3 separate regions of the Homo sapiens genome follow, and regions 1 and 3 are each linked to region 2. The links are contacts of gene promoters, found by promoter capture Hi-C in blood cells and fetal thymus (Javierre and others, 2016). All regions are on one chromosome and are shown on one strand. Each heading gives the region's core, a stretch centred on a gene start or on the middle of the fragment in contact. The rest is flanking DNA. Distances are from core to core; before and after follow the strand shown. Region 1 overlaps RASA2 (RAS p21 protein activator 2). Region 2 holds the start of GK5 (glycerol kinase 5). Region 3 overlaps RASA2 (RAS p21 protein activator 2).

Region 1 (2,700 bases), core at 167-2,666, 730 kb after region 2:
CTGGGCATCATAATTTTTTTAGTTCACAGGTGATGGTGACAGACAGTCAGAACTGAAAATAGCTGAGGTAGACCATGGCACAAGTAACTAAACATCCAGGTTCAATCTCCACCTAGGTCATAACCATAGTTTCATCACTAATCCTAACCACTTCACAAAGTTCTTAAGAAGGAACAGTTAAGAGTGTGTAGACGGCACAGTGAAAATCTTACCACCTCTCAATATATAAACAGATAAGTAGTATAATCTCTGTGTATTAAATGTAGTACATTTGCAACATTCATAGTAATAAGTTAATCTCATATAGCATTCTAGAAAGAACTTTGATAATAGTGGACTAGTGCCGAACAGGCCATCAACTGTGTGACACTTGCTGTCTCTGTTAGATTCTTCATTTGTAAAATGAAGGGTAAGAACCTTTATTTTCTCTACCTTCATGTTCTCTACCTTCCAGCTTTAAATTTCTATAATTGTCTAAGAATACAGATGTCTAAAAACAGCTATTGCTTAGTATAGACTTTAGGATAAAATAGGATCTTTCATCCGATTCACAGCTTAGGCCCATTTCAGTCCAGTGGGTTAGCGTCTCTTAACAGACCCTTCGATATGTATTACGTGCTGCTGAATTAATTAACAGTCACAGAAAAAAAATTTAGAATTCAAACGCTCTTATCTAATAAATCTTAAATATTTTTAAAACAGTGAATCATGCAAAACAAGTGTACTAAATACATTTAAACACTAAAATAAAGCATCTGATGTACTGCCTTAAAGCAAATGGTTCAAGTTAAAAAGCAATAATCAAAATGGTAGAAGGGATGTTAAAGACCATATCCAAACCTCTAATTTTACAAGTAAGGAAATACGGGCTCAGCAAGGTTAAAGAATTTGCCCAAAGTCATTGTCATTAATGACAGGAAAACAAATTTGTCATTTATGGTTCTCTGTATGTGTACTGATACAAACTTTTAATGTTTATCACTTTAGATAGGGGTTTTTGATAACTAAAATTACATACAAACCTAAAGAGATGCCATAAAAATGTCTTAATACACATAAAAAGCTTAACTTACATGAATATATGACTATACAACATTTTGTTTGCAGTTCTCAAAAGAGAATAGAACTTTATTAGTAGCAAAAACATGTAATCTGATATTATTGTCAAATAATTTCATAAAGCACATTAACAAGGAAATAGGATTAGCAGCTATGATTAAAGGATAAAATGATGGTTTTATTCTGGCTATATTAGTCACTTAAGGATCTATTCAAAGAGTTCTAAGTTTTAAAAAAACAACTCTATGAACTCACTGAGGTTTACCTCCCGTCTTCCACAGAGCAAATGATTAGCAGACTGCTCTGTGAACTTTTACAAAGAACCCTTTTCTCCCCAGTTTCTATCCATCTGAAAGATGGATTCTTCCTCCATCCTAAATAACTCATCATCTCATTTCAAATATCTGATAAAAATGAACTCTTAGCATGAATACACCCTTTTTAATCTCTTCCACTCAACTTTACTGGATAGTCAATAAAATGTTTTGATTTATACTTCACAGAATTAAATAGACGGTTTTATTCAAACCTGTCATGTCAAATTAAAACACTTAATGTGTAAAGTATGAATATGAGATTTTCTTTTCCAAGCTCCAGGACCAATTAGTAACAATATTCAAATGCCCTAATAATAAGTAATCAGAGCATTAAGAAAAATTTAATCTTTTTCCTAACAAGGCAACTTTGGCATCAATTCAAACCTAAGCTTAGTGGGCACTGTGATTTTGAAAGGGATGAACTTCCTGATGCAGACTCATACAGTTTTCTCTTAATACTAACACCTTCTAGTTTTTTTAGGTATATAATTTATAAAATACTTTCATATCTAGTAATTATCCACAGGATAACATTGTGAGGTAGGGCATATTCTAAAGGCCTATTCTGTTCTAGGCATTGTGCTGACACTGGGATGATTTTTTAAAAATGAACAAGAATCAATTCTATCTTGAAAGAGCTCACAATCTAACAGGAGAAGTGAACAAATGATTTCTATGAAATGTGCTATAATAAGGAAATGAGCAAGGAATTGTGTTCCCCAGCAGCAGAGATGCTGGCCAGAGATGGCACTGGAAGTGTCTCAGAAGGTTTTGGGAAGGAGATCACATAGAGCAGGCTTTTGAGGGATGAGTAGGAGCTTCCTGACATAAAGATGGGGTGGAGTAAAGAAGAAAGACAATCCCAAGCAGAGGGAACAACCTGTATACAATGGATAGTGGAAAAGCATCATTCCCATTTAAAAGATGCGGAAGGTAAGCTTCAAGATAAGTGAGCTGGCTAACGCCATATGAAGATTAATTAACAACGTTTAAAGAAGAATATAGGTCTTCAGATTTTAATCAGCTTTGTACACCTGGAAACTCCAGTATACATTGGACAAGAACATCAGATGAAGATTAGTTTTTATCTCCTACTTTACTCCTTCCTAAGAGATGGTCGGTGTATGACCCAGATCCTGGGGAGTGAGAAAGAGCAGGCAGAGATGAGGAGGGGCAGAGTAGGGAGGGAGGCTTATTTAAACCTCATAACAACCCGTGAGATAGGTATTTTTACTATCCCCATTTTATATATGAGAATATGAAGGCCCAAAGACATTAACAAAAGTTGGAAATTAGGTGAAGATTCAAACCCAGGTAACTAACT
Region 2 (2,731 bases), core at 122-2,621:
GGGTGGCGCAGGTGGAACCACCTCCCCACTACTTGCAGATCAGGACCCTCCCCGGGAAAGCTCCAGGCCCAGGAACCTAAGCCGCAAGAATCTCGAAATTTCCACAGGACACCTTGTTCCTTTTGGCCAAGTGTCTGGATGAGCCCATCCCCTTGGGCAGCAACAAAAGGTAAAGGGTCTCTGTGAGGCTTTCAGATTCCAAAAAAAAGCAACCGCTGGAGTGGAGTGTGATGGTCAAAGCAGCCACCTTAAGCTTTCTCCTTTCTTTCCCACTAGAGGGCTGAGAAAAGTCTTCTTCCTTGCGTTGTATTTCATTTGGCAAATATTTACCGCTTTGTATTGTGTGCAAACTTTACCAGGTTTTCTGGGAAGAGAAGTCGTGGGGAGCTCTCAGTTTGTTAATAAATATTAATACTTTTGGCCAAATTTTGAATTTTTTATGTCACTTGTTTTATTTCATTTTTGAAAAACAGCACTTTATTTCATTTAACTCTAGCATATTCAATGGCTGTGCATTTAATAATACTGAAATAAAGTCGCACCCAAAATGTTAGCAAAAAAATGGAAACTATATATGGTAGTGACCTCTACAAATGTTTTAAGCTTGAAAAATTCTGCACGAACGCAGACACAGGTTAGTCTGCCAAAGTTACTCAGATAAAAATTTCTCCAACCCTCAAGTCATAATCATAGTTGAGAAATGAATAAATGTGCCTTATGGCACCTCCAAACTTTTTGAGATTTTTATATAAACTAGCCTATACTTCTCTCCTTACGATTAGCATATGGGGTAGCTATTTTTCTTTAACAGAGATTCTTCAAATGTAGCTAGGGTTAAGAGAAACGCTGGCGCTGCCTCTCAGGAAGCTGGAGAAGCAAAAGAAAAAATTAAGAGTTAAGGGCCGCCGGGCTCGGTGGCTCACGCCTGCAATCGCAGCAATTTGGGAAGCCGAGGCGAGCGGATCACGAGATCAGGAGATCGAGACCAGCCTGATCAACATGGTGAAACCCCTTCTCTACTAAAAATACAAAAATAGCCGGGCGTGGTGGAGCGCGCCTGTAATCCCAGCTACTCGGGAGGCTGAGGCAAGAGAATCGCTTGAACCCGGGAGGCGGAGGTTGCAGTGAGCCGAGATCGCGCCACCGCACTCCAGCCGGGGCGACAGAGTGAGACTCCGTCTCAAAAAGAAAAAAAACAAGAGTTAAGGGCCAAGTCAATCCAACCGCGGCCGGCGACTGGAGGCTGAGCATGGCTGGCGATCTGGGGCTGCAGATCACGGCGCAAACCCGCTCACCTCCACCCCTCCCGCGCGGCCGCCGGCGCGCGCCCGTGGCGTCACGGCGTCGGGGTGGAGCCGGCGGCAGGGGCCAGGCCTCTCTAGGCTCTCCGGCTGAGCCGGGTTGGGGCCCGGGTTGGGCCGCCCGGGGACTCTGGAGCATTGGGATTTGTAGCGCGCCCTCTGGGTAGGCGGCTGTAGCGGAGAGGCGTGCGGGATCGGGATGTCGGGGCTGCTCACGGACCCGGAGCAGAGAGCGCAGGAGCCGCGGTACCCCGGCTTCGTGCTGGGGCTGGATGTGGGCAGTTCTGTGATCCGCTGCCACGTCTATGACCGGGCGGCGCGGGTCTGCGGCTCCAGCGTGCAGAAGGTGACTTGGGGGCGGGCGTGGGGCGCGGGTCTGACTGGGTTTCGCTGAGTCCCGGGGTCCGGCCTCGGGAGGCGAGCGGGCAGGCCCCACCTACCGCCCTGGACGCGGCCACCTGCAGCACCCGCGGGCCCTGGGGCCAGAACGGCGCGCCCAGACCGGCTGAGTCTTCGCGTTCCCTCCCTCGTCTGGGCTGAATCCCGCGCGCCCTTCCTGTCCAGGCTGAGGGTGCCAGGGGCCCGGTGTATGACCTGGGCCGCTCGCTTGCCTCTTGCCACCTGGGGAGCCACCTGTCCGGCCTTACCTGGATGGGACTGAGGTGACTCGCCGGACGGGACTGGGCAGGCTGTGCACATCCAGCCAGAGGGTGGTTTGTGAGTTGCTTGGTTCTTCCTGCACTTCCCTGATAGATCTCCCACCACATCTTTATTTACATTTTAATTTTTCAAAACTTTTTTTCTTTTTTCTTTATTATAGCCTTTGGACTTGTGCCTCAATAACTTTTCATATCTTTGTAGAATTTAAGTTTATTCTCTATTCTTCACTTGTCATCTTTATTAACTACTACTCCACAAAATGCTGGTTCCTTACGTGAGCAACTGATTGCCGTGGATATTAGAGGTATTGGGCAAGTTTTGAAGGCTGTGTGGTCATCAGTTTTCTATTTTCCATCTTTGAGAATTCATAAAATTCTTTATTTCCCCTCGTTTGAGAGACCTGCCAAATCATTGGTTGGTTGTTAGTAAAGCCTTGAATTGTTGATAATATTGGTCAGCAACCAACAAATTGATATCCTTCTGTTCTCATATTAATGAAGTGTTGATTTATACACAATTGTCAATGCACCAAAAATAATATTTATTTGTTATGGTGTTCTTATTGTTGTTCCTTTTTTTCTTTTGAGACAGGGTCTCACTTTGTCACCCAGGCTGGAGTGCAGTGCTGTGATCTCGGCTCACTGCAGCTTTGACCTCCTGGGCTCAAGTGATCCTTCCACCTCAGCCCCCCAAGTAGCTGGGACTACAGGCAAGGGGCCACCATGCCTGGCTAAATTTGTTTGTATTTTTTAATAGAGATGGGATTTTGC
Region 3 (2,793 bases), core at 266-2,765, 650 kb after region 2:
CTTTAGTTTGATTTTTGGCTCCCATTCCTTGATATTTTAGTATCCCCCCAACCCCCACATTGAAAACAGGCAATGAATGTGAAGGGGAAGAGATGACCAGAATATAAGGTAATCTGGAAAGGAAGGAATATCCGAAATATGATCCTTATAATATACTTATAAAGTAGATACACACCTAAATTAAGTCTATTCAGAAAACATTTTAGCTGTAACATCTGGGATTTCATTACATCTATAAAAGGTCCCTACAATTCTCTGTCTTTGAAGAAAATAATATTCTTAAAGATGTCCTGGCACCTGCACTCATGTTTCCTGCAGCACTATTTACAATAGCAAAGTCATAGAACCAACCTAAGTATCCACCAACATCTGTTACAGGAATATGCAAATTCAAGTATGAATACAAGGCAGACTCACAAGTTCAGAAGTAGGTGTTCTGTTTATGTCCAGAATGTTGCTACCACGCTTTCACTGCCTCAGAGTTCTGTGCAGCTTTAGTAACAAAGCCACAGAATGGACAGCCCTGTGAACAAAAGGACACTGGCCCACTCTCTGCTGGGGCTACTCACAGACCATTTATCCTTTGGCAAGAAAGGGCGTGGTGCTGCCACTGCAACATGGTTCTATTCAGTTCTCACAAAGTTAAGTGAGTGTCAATGTCATGTAGCCGTTGAGAGAAGAAATGGGTATTCAGAACCTGGTTTAACTCTAAAACTCATCTGTTTTCCCTACACTATTGAGCAACTCCTCTTGGCTGTGAGTTTCCTAAGGGCAAAGAGTATCTTACTCATCACTGCATCTCCAGTACTGAGCATGGAATGATACATTATAGGTACTTGAACATCTGTCTAAGAGGTTGGAAGGGATAGGATTAAGCTCACAGATGATAAAGACTGACTGAATTTGAATCCCAGTTAAATCCAATTCAAATCGAGTATGATCAAATCATAATTTGTCAGTTGTGTGAGCTTGGAAAAGTTACTGTATTGTGATTTCCTTATCTGCACATGTGGATGATAACAGAATTTACCTTACCAGGTTGCTAGGAGGACCAAATAAGTTAACACATAAAGTAGTTAGAACAAGGCCTAGTACAAAGCACTAAATAAATGTGGACTATTGTTATTATTTGTTATACAAATCAGCAACTAGGAGCAATTAGGTAAGATTATAAAGTATTTGGAACATAAAAGCTTAAAGAATCAACCAAATTACACCATATAAGAAGGAATCAGAAGTATAGCAAAAATAAAGAATTTTAAAAATTAAGAAATAAACATGTAAATCTATGCAGTGGAGATTTAGATTTTTGGTAATTAAACAGGACTCCAGAACAAAGTTTATATGCTTAAGAAATTTTTAAATCTCATGTTTACAGTATTACCTCAGGTAAATAAAAAGTGAAAATACTGATATATTTAACAAGTTATATTCCAATAAAAGTTCCTACGCCTTTCACTATACTGCATTCTTGGTTTCTTTTTCTGTTTTTACTGTTAATGCTTATCCAGTTCACCTGCCATTTAATATTTTCTAATTATATGCTTTCAGTTTCATTGCTACTGAAATCTATCTTAGATGCTGTTTCTAAATTAAATGGAATTTCTCTTGTAGCCTTCTTTCTTAGAGAAGAGCCTCTTCAAATTTCTGTGCAATTTAAAAATATCTGCAAAATTAACCTATTTTAATAAATCAGGAAAGTAGATTTTGTTTAAATAAAAAACCTATCAAAATGAAACCTGTAACTAATGAAAAAAAACTTATGGAAATTTACAAACACACACAGTAGCAGATGAAAAAATATAATAAATCCCCTTTGTACTCATCACCAAGCTTCAATAATTAACAACATTTTATTACTCTTGTAGAACATCTTTTAACAACAACAAAAAATAGGATTATTAGCCTCACTTGAAAGACTGAAATGGCCAAGAAAAATGCTGAGTAAATTTAAGTATCAGTTATAAGAAAATACAGCCTAGTGAAATTGGTTTATTTTATCTTTTCTTCATTTTAATAAAAATTAAAAAAATGGAATAAAGCTTTCAGAAGAATGAACACTTACTGGATGATGAGGTCGCAAATGAAAAGTATGAGGTGATACTACGGCTACAGCAAAGAAACGAAGAAATACAAAGCTGCTCACTGCAGAATACTGAACATGAGGGTCATCTGCAGGAAAAAAATGGTGAAATGTCATGCACAAAAACAATTAAAAAACAAAGATGATAAATTAAAAAATATAGAAAAGACATGTAAACTAGGAGAGCAACATAATTTGTCTAGTAAGAACTGAGTTGATGAAATGATAGTGATATTTATGACTCAATTAAAAGAAAACCCCTATGATTAAAAAAATCCAAAAGAAATAAGAAATAATATGAAAAAAGACAAAGCTGCTAGGTTTTCAGAAATATTTTAATTTGAAAAATACCTCTTTCCTCACCTGCAAGAAGAGACTGCTAAAATTACAACAGAAATAAAAGTAGTATCTAGCACTACCTAGTGGTAACACTGAATCCCTTAAGAGTATGATACAAGGCTACTTTCAGTTTTAGGTTCTTGTTTCAATATCCCCCCCAAAAATCTTGATAATATCAAAAGTTATGCAACAAAAACAATTAGGCAGAAATGTTTACTTTAAAAAGCTATCAACAGTCCATAAATAAAAATGCAGATGAACTGAAGACTACTGGTGGCTTTGATCATTCACCTACAACTTTCGTTTCAGACTGGAGTCAACAATTTACCCAACAATCAGACAGATGGTGGTGAAGCAGATGGTGAGGGAAA

What was found. The method cuts DNA at HindIII sites, captures the fragments that hold promoters and counts their contacts. A CHiCAGO score of 5 or more calls a contact.
Region 1: a contact is called between a fragment that was not itself captured here and the fragment with the promoter of GK5 in region 2, in 1 of 17 cell types (fetal thymus). The highest score is 6.3, in fetal thymus.
Region 3: a contact is called between a fragment that was not itself captured here and the fragment with the promoter of GK5 in region 2, in 1 of 17 cell types (fetal thymus). The highest score is 5.2, in fetal thymus.

The regions. Positions count from the first base shown.
Region 1 is chr3:141,490,754-141,493,453 of GRCh38, reverse strand. All of the region lies in intron 1 of RASA2 (RAS p21 protein activator 2), which reads right to left. Among named protein-coding and RNA genes, the nearest start is that of RASA2, 5.1 kb to the right of the region's middle. The HindIII fragment of the contact is 702 bases long and covers 1,066-1,767 here.
Region 2 is chr3:142,224,225-142,226,955 of GRCh38, reverse strand. GK5 (glycerol kinase 5) reads left to right here and starts at 1,371. Exons shown (of 16, transcript NM_001039547.3): 1 at 1,371-1,647. The coding sequence starts at 1,501. RefSeq lists silencers at 1,188-1,427, 1,618-1,837. The HindIII fragment of the contact is 7,101 bases long and covers 606-2,731 here.
Region 3 is chr3:141,576,379-141,579,171 of GRCh38, reverse strand. It overlaps RASA2 (RAS p21 protein activator 2), which reads right to left. Exons shown (of 24, transcript NM_006506.5): 15 at 2,066-2,172. Among named protein-coding and RNA genes, the nearest start is that of RASA2-IT1, 53 kb to the right of the region's middle. The HindIII fragment of the contact is 640 bases long and covers 1,196-1,835 here.